Linked DNA regions of Homo sapiens: regions 1 and 3 are each linked to region 2. Evidence: promoter capture Hi-C in 16 types of primary human blood cells and fetal thymus (Javierre and others, 2016). All regions are on one chromosome and are shown on one strand. Each heading gives the region's core, a stretch centred on a gene start or on the middle of the fragment in contact. The rest is flanking DNA. Distances are from core to core; before and after follow the strand shown.

Evidence for each region. The method cuts DNA at HindIII sites, captures the fragments that hold promoters and counts their contacts. A CHiCAGO score of 5 or more calls a contact.
Region 1: a fragment that was not itself captured here is called in contact with the fragment with the promoter of VASH1 in region 2 in 6 of 17 cell types (monocytes, total CD4 T cells, fetal thymus and 3 more); the score reaches 6.1 in monocytes.
Region 3: a contact is called between a fragment that was not itself captured here and the fragment with the promoter of VASH1 in region 2, in 2 of 17 cell types (monocytes and M2 macrophages). The highest score is 9.4, in monocytes.

What each region holds. Positions count from the first base shown.
Region 1 is chr14:77,076,496-77,079,756 of GRCh38, reverse strand. No RefSeq gene overlaps it. Among named protein-coding and RNA genes, the nearest start is that of LINC02289, 1.9 kb to the right of the region's middle. The HindIII fragment of the contact is 1,332 bases long and covers 927-2,258 here.
Region 2 is chr14:76,759,375-76,762,915 of GRCh38, reverse strand. It overlaps VASH1 (vasohibin 1), which reads right to left and starts at 1,448. Exons shown (of 7, transcript NM_014909.5): 1 at 1-1,448. The coding sequence starts at 94. RefSeq lists silencers at 922-1,191, 1,292-1,481. The HindIII fragment of the contact is 7,359 bases long and covers 1-3,541 here.
Region 3 is chr14:77,093,267-77,096,356 of GRCh38, reverse strand. No RefSeq gene overlaps it. Among named protein-coding and RNA genes, the nearest start is that of CIPC, 3.4 kb to the left of the region's middle. The HindIII fragment of the contact is 1,194 bases long and covers 1,063-2,256 here.

The DNA of each region.
Region 1 (3,261 bases), core at 343-2,842, 320 kb before region 2:
AGATACCTGAAAGAGTTCTTGTTTGTCACCTGGAGGTTGATTTGGACAATCATGGCACAGGTATTATACTACCACTCGGCAGAGTCTTCTTTAAACTTTTAGCTCTCACCTTAATCAATTTAAGAGTGAGCTTCTTTTTGGTATAAAGACTTTGGTAGGTCAGGTGTGGTGGCTCACACCTATAATCCTAGCACTTCAGGAGGCCGAGGTGGGCAGATCACTTGAACTCAGGAGTTCGCGATCAGCCTGGGCAACATGGTGAGACTCCATCTCTACTAAAAATACAAATAGTAGCTGGGTGTGGTGGTGCACACTTATAATTCTAGCTACTCTGGAGGCTGAAGAGGGAGGATTCTTTGAGCCTAGGAGGTTGAGGCTGCAGTGAGCTGAGATCTCACACTACACTCCAGCCTGAGCGACAGAGTGAGACCCTGCCTCAAAAAAAAAAAAAAAAAAGAAAAGAAAAGAAAAGAAAAAAAAGACTGTGGTAGCTATGTATTGCTTTTTGTCATCAAGAATCCTTTCACCTGTCTCCCAGTGGTAGTATGCTACTTTCCTCTTGGGAACCCCACTTCCCCATTCTTGATGTCCCACAGACAGAGTTGACTCCACTCCCAGATCCAGAAGTGGTTATGTGACTACAACCTGGCCACTTAGGCCATCACATTCCCCAGCCATGGTGTCTTGCTTGATGATGGATTCATGTTCAAGTCAGAGCCAGTTCAGTGGAATGAGACTTTTGCTGGGACTGCAAAAAGAAAAGCACTTCATGTTTTTTCCTCACAAGTCTCAGGCATAGGAAGAGGTGGGACTGGATTGCTGGCAGCCATCTTATCCCAACAAGAAAACGCTATGGAGAAGAGCAGCATCGGGGATAAAGATAAAGCCAAATCTTGGTGATATTGTTTGAATCCCTGGATCAAGCTTGGCCTGAACCAGCACAATGCCTAATCCCTGGTCTGCTTAGTTATATGAAACAGCATCCCAATTTAAAGTCATTTAGAGGTGAATTTTCTGTCACTTAGTGCAACCGAGAGAGTAATAACTGATGCGAAGGCCACATAGACTTGGCCTTTTTTTTTTTTTTCCTGAAGTATAAATTCCCTTAGCATCTGTGTGGCCCAGCACTACACTCTGGATCTCCTTAGCTGTCTGGTCACTGAATGGGGACTGCTACTTGGCCGTGATTCTCAACCAGGGGTAATTTTGCCCCCAAGGGACAGTTTTGTCATGGAGTTGGGGGAGGCGCTACTGGCATCTTGTGGATAGAGGCCAGGGATATTCCAAAACATCCTACAATGTACAGGGCAGCCCCGACAACGAAGAATAATCCAGCCCAAACTGTCATTAGTGCTCTGTAGATGGTTTTGGCTGCTATAACAAAATACCTTAGACTGGGTAATTTATAAACAATGGAAATTTATCATTCACAGTTCTGGAGACTGGAAAGTCCAAGGTCAAGGCGCCAGCAGATTCAGTGTCTTGTGAGGGCTCATTCCTCATACATGGTGCCTCCTCTGTGTCCTTGCATGGCAGAAGGGGTCAACAAGCTCCTTCAGGCCTCTTTTATAAAAGTCTTAATCCCATTCATGAGGGGAGAGCCCTCAGGACCTAATCATGTGGCAGGCAGATTGTCTGAGGTCAGGAGTTCGAGACCAGCCTGGCCAACGTGGAGAAACTCTGTCTCTACTAAAAAAAAAAAAAAAAAATAGCCTGCTGTGGTAGTGCACACCTGTAGTCCCGACTACTCGGGAGGCTGAGGCAGGAGAATTGCTTGAACCTGGGAGGTGGAAGTTGCAATAAGCCGAGATCACACCATTGCACTCCAGCCTGGATGACAGAGCAAGGCTCTGTCTCAAAAAACAAATAAATAGGCCGGGCGCGGTGGCTCACGCCTGTAATCCCAGCACTCTGGGAGGCCGAGGTGGGTGGATCAAGATGTCAGGAGATGGAGACTATCCTGGCTAACACGGTGAAACCCCGCCTCTACTAAAAATACAAAAAATTAGCCAGGCGCCGTGGCAGGCACCTGTAGTCCCAGCTACTCGGGAGGCTGGGCAGGAGAATGGCGTGAACCCTGGAAGCGGAACTTGCAGTGAGCCGAGATCTTGCCACTGCACTCTGTCTGCCTGGGCGACAGAGCGAAACTCTGTCTCAAAACAAAAAAAAACAAAAACAAAATAAATAAACAAACAAATAAATAAATAAATAAAGAGTGTTAGGAGCCTTCTCTCCTGTAAGCTGTGAACAACTAAGCTTGTTTAGGTCCTGAAATGTCACTGTCATTGTCAGCATGATAAATGCTTTGTGCTGTAATAATACAGAGAAACAGGATGTCTATTCCCCAAAGCCTCTGTGATGGAGAAGGTGGGCTTTCCAGAGGCTCTGACTGTGGAATGTGTCTAGAATCCTCTGCATGTTTTCCAGGTTCACCTCCACACCCTCATCTCTGCTCAGCCGGGTCCTTGCTAGGAGCAGGAACCTGCCTGGTGGGTCTCTGATGGCAGCCCCATGCTCTGCAGACCCCGGACTCTCCGCAGCCCCAGCTCCTGCCTTGTCCTGTTGTCTTCCACCAAGGGGCACCCTTCTTTAAAAAGCTGGACTCTTTTTTTTTTTTTTTTTTTTTTGAGATAGGTTCTTGCTCTATCACCCAGGCTGGAGTGCAATAGTGCAATCACAGCTCACTGCTGCCTCCACTGCCTGGGCTTAAGTAATCCTCCTGCCTCAGTCTCCTGAGTAGCAGGGACCACAGACACACACCAACACTCCAAGCTAATTTTTAAAAATTATTTGTAGGGATGAGGTCTCGCTATGTTGCCCAGGCTGGTCTCAAGCTCCTGGCCTCAAGGGATCCTCCTGCCTTAGCCTCCCAAAGTGCTGGGATTACAGGAGTGAGCCACTATGCCCGGCCCAAGACTGACTCTTAAAAAAGGACAGAGCTAGTCCCAAGCTTGTGCAAGGACAGTGAGAGAGGGGAGACTCAGAAGTAGCCAATTTTTCCCCCAGTAATTAATAAGACATTTAAAGGACTTATCAGGTCACCACAGCTCCATCATCCCTGGGGAATTGTTTGGTTTAGCAGAACTGTTCCCACCCTGCCCCCCTTTGCTTTCTTCTTTCCTTGCCCAGACCCCTCCCCCAACTTAGTTGACGTTGCACAAAGCTTTCAAAAAAACAAGTTTTGTTCCCAGGTCAGCTATATCCTCCCAGGAAGTTTCCCCATCCCAGGGTGAAGTCAGGCCAACACAGGGTGAAGAGTTA
Region 2 (3,541 bases), core at 199-2,698:
CCAAACGCCTGACCCCAGAGGGGGCGGTGGCCGCAGCGGACGTTGGAGTGGCACCGCTGCTGCCACCCCCAGCCACCTTCTTCCCCCCTGGCATCCCTAAATCTTCGAGGGGGGTGGTGGAGGCGGGAAAACAACTGGCTCACAAGAGGCCTCCCACACACCGGCTGCAGAGATAACACATGGCCAGAGTGCAAGGCGCCTTTAAGAAATCAGGGCGTGGCTCCTGTACAATAAAATACGACTTGATAAAAAAAATCAGTGCAATAAGGTGAATTAGGGTCCGAGGGGGTGGGTTGTCTGGGGTCAGCCTTGGAGGCCTTGTTCTGTTTGAAAAACGGAATAAAGAGAACACACCCCAACTTGGCAGCCGTCACAAAGCACCCCCATCTAACTGCGAGAACAATGACGGGCAGCAGTGAGGGCTGGCAGAGCGGAGAAAAGTCGGAGGGAAACTGAGGCCAGACAGCTCGGACCAGCGGCTGCAGAAAGGACAGAGTCAAGGCACGGGTGCCCACTGGGCGCCCTGGGTCTCAGTTTCGGAGGGAACAAAATCCCCTACACAACTCTCGCACGCTCACATCTGCGCGCGCCCCAAGGAAGACCGAGGCGACTCCCGGCCGCGCGAGCTCGGAACCAAGACCCCCGGGCGGGAGAGCGGCGCTGGGGGGCGATTTCTCCGACGCGACGAGACAAGTCCGGGAGCCAAGACTCGCAGCTGGCCGGGAGCGGGGAGGGGGCGCGCGCCGACGCGCACATTCCCCGCCTGCGGCCAACTCCCTGCACAAAGTGGGCTTTGTCTGGGTCCCCTGTCCCCTCGTCCCCAGAAACAGCGGCGGAGTCCCCAGAAAGGGAGCGGGCGCGGCGGGGAGGCGAAGGCTGCGAGCCCCGAGGCCCAGCGGGTCCCCACTCGGGCGCGTCTCAGCGGGAGGACGGCTGGCACCTGGCGCCGCGCTGCACCAGCCGAGCCATCGCAGGGCACGGGGCCCGCGGCTCAGCGGGACCGGCTCGGGCGGCGCGCAGGGGCCAGGCTGAGGTCACTGAGCGGCGGGCTGCGGCCGCGGGGTCGCTGCCTGGGACTGGCTGCAGCATGGGCGGTGGCGCGGCCCGGGCGGGCGGAGGATGCTCCGTGGCTGTTCGCTCGGGCTGCAGCTGCCCTGGCTGAGGGTGGAGGAAGGACCGCGGGGCGGGGACCGCAAGCCCGGAGGCTCGCGCAGCCTCGGCCGGCGGATGTAGCTGGAGGCGAGTGACGAAGCCGGGCGAGCGCGCGCTGCGCTGGTGCCTGGGGAGCAGCCCGCCAACGCGGAGCCCGCCAACGAGAAGCCCACCAGCCGATCGCTGCTCGGCGAAGCTGGGGCCGCCGCTGCTGCAGCCCCGCCGCCCCTGGGCCCCGCTGCCGCCGACCACGTCCCCTGCCAGCCAGCCGCCCACCAGGCTCGACTACGGCCCGCGCCGCGCATGCGCTCCGTCCCCCCCTTAAAGGGCCAGCGCCTTCGCGCCCAGTCCTCCGCCCCCCGCGGCGGTGCCTCTGTCCCAAGTTACCCCAAGGACGCCGGTGGGCATTCGCTCCCTCCTCACCCAGCTGTCAGGGCGCCGCGAAGCCGGTGCGAAGCTGCGGAGGACGTTTTCAACGTGCCAGAGGGAGCGCAAACTCCATGGAGATTCCTAGCGCAGAAGGAATTCCTGCGGTCGGGAATTTCTTGAAAAAGATTCTTCGCAGGGGCCCTGAGCCGGTAGGACCGAGAGCACTGGCCTGGAAGACTGGGATTCTAGACCGGATTCAGTGCCTGTGTTGCTTTGGGACGTTCAGCAGTTCCCTTCCCTCTGTAGGCCTCAGTTTCCCCATATCCCAGCCGAGGTGGTCACAGTGAGTGAGCGCAGAGTCCCTCCCAGCGCGCACAGTTCTTAGAGGAGGACATCTAGGGATTGAGACGGGGGGTCACTATCTCTGGAAACGAAAAGGGTTAAAAGTCACCCTGTTTTATTCGATTGCCTGCACTGGTGGGAATGGGGTGCGCAGAGCTCACCCCTAGACCATCTGCCTAGACCGGGCTTTGGACGCTCTGGACCCCGCGGACCAGGGTGGGACCGCGACGTGGGCGTGGGAGGCAATGCTTGGGGAGGGTCCGCTGGCCTAGAGGAAGGTGAAAGTACAACCAGCTGTGGTGCGTGGTTGGACACTGGACGCACCCTCCGCCTCCCTCATGCCATAGAGTTGTAAATGGTGGGAAAGGCACTATCTCTAGGCTGAAGCCAAGAACTTTAGGAAGAGACGGCCGAGTGTGTGCTTTAAGATGCTCCCCCTCTCCCCTGCCTGTAGTTAGCATGAATCACAGTCTTGTGGGAGAATGCAGATTCCTTGGCCTTAGCCGGCAGATTCAGATTCCTTAGTTGTGGGGTCGTTGCATTTCTTGACAAGCTGAGGTTACTACACAAGGGCTGGGTTAAAGGCCTTAGAGAGACCCCAGGGCCTCAGTGGTTTCACATCTGTTCTCTAAAGCTGTCCCTAGTATCTGAACTTTCTGGGTACCCTGTGCTCCCGTAGCAACCTCTTACTACCTCCAGGGTCAGAAACCAAGGGTTATCAGTGATGGGAAGGATTGCAAGACTCCAAGAAAGTTAGTTCAGCCTGGATCTTCTTAAACTCACTAAGGCAAGAAGACTCCAAGCGTAGAAAAATCACTAGGGATCAACAACTATCACCCTGTATTGTATAAACCAAGTCTCAGAGGGTAATTTCCCCAAACTCACACAGCTAGTAAGTGGCAGAGCTAGAATGTGAACAGAAGTCTTACTTCTTCAGACACTTGTTTTTCACTCTATACATTGCTTCTTGTGTTAGCCAAGTGGTGCTGGTTTTAAAATTGGCTTGCAAGCTCTTGACCATTCTTTTCAAAAGATGGGATCTAATTCCTTTCCCCCTGAATGTGGGATGTACTTGGTGACTGGTGTCTAATGAATAAAGTGTGATGAAAGTGAAGCTGTATGACTCTTAAGACCAGGCCATAAAAAGGAGACAGCTTCTTCTTGGTTCCTCAGAAGAAACCAGCTACCATGTTGTGAAGAAGCCCAAGCCACATGGTGAGGCCACATGAGGGTGTTCTCGCTGACAGCTGCTGCTGGGCTCTCAGCCAACAGCCAGAGTCAATCACCAGATCATGGCAAACCGAGACTTCAGGTCTTGCCAGCCCTCGGCCTTTAAGTCTTAGAGTTGAGGTCCCAGACATGGAGCAGAGAACAACCAGCCCTGCTGTGCCCTGTCTGACTTTCTGTCCCACAGAAATTGAGAGAGGATAAGTGACTATTCTCGTTTTAAGCTGCTAAGTTTTGGACTAACTTGTTACGCAGCATGAGATAATACCATGTGTTTTCTGAAATGACAAATAAAATAGATGTAGGGTATTCATTCAAAGAGTAAGTACTCATAGAACATCTTCTATGTGTTTGACTCTGTACTGGGCACTGGAGAAGCAGTAGTGAACAAGAGGGACATGGCCTTTGCTCTAGTTGGACTTATGGCCTACTAGTGGAGGAGATAGTTAAG
Region 3 (3,090 bases), core at 410-2,909, 330 kb before region 2:
TTTGGTTGTTGGAGTAGGAAGAGATCAGTAGGTAAATCTTTAAGGATAGCTAAAAGTTGGATTTGCAGTAATGGAAGTGGGTGAGAGTACGACGCACACAAAGCAAAAAAAGAATCAATGAAATAAGCAAAAGCATGAGGTGTGGTCCTATCTTAGTTTTCCGAAGGGGCAAATAAATAAACTATGAGAGGAATGAATTAATGGCATTTGCAGCAACCTGGATGAGATTGGAGACTTATATTCTAAGTGAAGTAACTAAGGAATAGAAACCCAAACATCGTATGTTCTCACTCATAAGTGGGAGTTAAGCTATGAGGATGTAAAGGCATAAGGATGATACAGTGGACTTTGGGGACTCAAGGGGAAAGGGTGGGAAGGGGGTGAGGGATAAAAGACTACAAATTGGGTGCAGTGTATACTGCTCAGGTGATGGGTTCACCAAAATCTCACAAATCACCGCTTAAGAACTTACTCATATAACCAAAATGCCACCTGTTCCCCAAAAACCTATGGAAATAAAAAATTTAAAAAACAGCAGCATGGATACTAGGCTTAATACCTGGGTAACGAAATCATCTGTACAACAAACCGCCATGACACAAGTTTACCTATGTAACGAATCTGCACACGTATCCCTGAACTTAAATAAAAAACAAAACAAAAATAAAATTCAAAAAAAAAAAGAATAAAAGTCTGCCTTCAAATAACTTACAATCTGATATGGGAAATAAGACATGATGTAATAAGCAATATGAAAGAGAATGGGATAACTACCAAAAGATTCTGAACAAAACAATAACATTAAGGGAGAAAAAAAAAACTTTCTTTTTCGGTTGTTGGAGTAGAAAGAGACCAGCAGGTAAAGCTTTAAAGACAGCTTGAAAGTTGGGTTTGCAATAATGGAAGCAGGTGAGGGGATAATGCATACCAAGCAAAAAAGAATCAGTGAAATATGCGAAAGCATGAGGCCCTCTTAGTCCTCCGAAGGGGCAAATAAACCAAACTTCCTTGACTTTACCTACATCTTGAGCAGACAGCCATGCTGTACCAATAACTTAAGCTTCAGACAAGTATTGTAATGGAACCAAATGAATCAAGACTAATGATAGGCATAATTTTTATGATTATTTTATGCTATGATTCTATATAATTAGATATACAGAATAAGCAATTCATGAAGATTGATAGTGAATATTTTTATGTAGCTAAACCACCGTAAACGTTTTTCTTCCTTTCCTATTAATTTACCAAGATTTGTAAATCAGCATCTATTGATAGTTTACTGGTGCCACGAATTCTTTAACCTTCACTCACTTTACTCTCTTTACTCTTGGTTGGAGTAAGGACCCTATGATGGATGGGGTAAGGACCCTGTGATGGATAGTGGGTTCTGAAGCACCTATTCTTCTTGCTGTAGGGTCCTTTCCAATTCAAGTTCTCCCCAGTACCATTGTGGTCTAGGTTCGGTTTCCTACCACCACAACCAGCAGGGGGAGACATGCGCCCTTAAATCCTACATTTAGGGACTTGCGAATGTTTCTTTTTTTTTCCCATCTACTTCTTGAAATTGTAACCTGCCTATCCGTGTGAGGATTTGAGTTTTTAACCCTGCCTAGGATACCATGAAGAGTCAGCCATGGGCCGAGTTTTATTTGAAGATATTTTAAGTGTATTATGTTATACAATTTAAAATATTTATAAACGATTGTTTAATAATTGTTGAATTTAAAATTAAAGTCATTTAAAAATATTTAAAAGTGGGCCAGGCGCAGTGGCTCACACCTGTAATCCCAGCACTTTGGGAGGCCAAGGCGGGCAGATCACTAGGTCAGGAGTTCAAGACCAGCCTGGCCAACGTGGTGAAACCCCGTCTCTACTGAAAATACAAAAATTAGCTGGGCATGGTGGCATGCGCCTTTAATCCCAGCCACTCAGGGGGCTGAGGCAGGAGAATTGCTTGAATCCAGGAGGCGGAGGCTGCAGTGAGCTGAAATTGTGCCACTGCACTCCAGCCTGGGTGACAGAGCGAGACTCCGTCTCAAAAAAAAAAAAAAAAAAAATTTAGAAGTAATTAAAATAGTGTAATAGGAGACGGTGAAAGTCAGTGATCTAGTTTCAAATTCCAGCTCCTATCAATATCATTTTACAAAAGAAGGGTCATTTTGATATCTTTTCCGTATACACAGAAGGGAAGATAGGACATAACCTCACAATTTAAAAATAGAATAATTTCGGGTGTATGAAAAACTTAAAGCTTTTAGTCTTATTTTTCCAGTTTGGCTGAAGACTGGTGAAAACATCACCACAAGGACTGGCAACAGTTCTTGGACTGGTGTTTGGGAACCATTGATTTCATTTTCCTGAACCTCAGTTTGGCCGTCTGTAAAATAGTTATCCTGTAGTTTGAATCTAGCATCTAGCATTATTGGTGCTGATCACTTCATAAGTCTTTAAATAGGATTTGATGGAGTGGTAAGTGTGTCTCATGGGTCAGTGAGAGAAGAGAGGGGCTCCAGCCTGTGTGGGCAGGGGGATCTACAGGTGCCAGATGGCAGAGGCAGAGGCCAGTGATAGTGGGATGTATGACCTTTTTTCCCTTAGCAGTCAGGTAACAAGGCCCTCACCAGCCAGACTGGTTCTTGGCTCATATTTTAGGGAAGTATTTGGCAGAGCAGGTACACTAAAAGGGTAATATTCAGGTTATGGTCAGGCTGTTCATATACAGGTGAAGGTTTTGATTTTAGAGACAGTGTAAACCCTTCCCACATAGCCCTCTGTCTTCTTGCTGATACTTGAAATTCCTTTAAGGAATTGCTTGACACCAAGATACTCTAGAACCCAAGACAAATTCTTCCATAACAACACGTAGTGCTTATTATTTGCCAGATGCTGTCCTAAGTGATTTGCCTACATTTATTCATTTAATCCTCCCACTGTCTATGAGATGGGTGTAGTATCATTATTTTCTTTTTACAGAGCAGGAGGCTCAGATATGGAGGCCCACGTCACTTGCCAAGGTCACCCGTGGTAAGTGGTAGAGCCAGGATTTGAATTCCAGAGTCCTTGCCACTTTGCTTGACAGCCTCCATG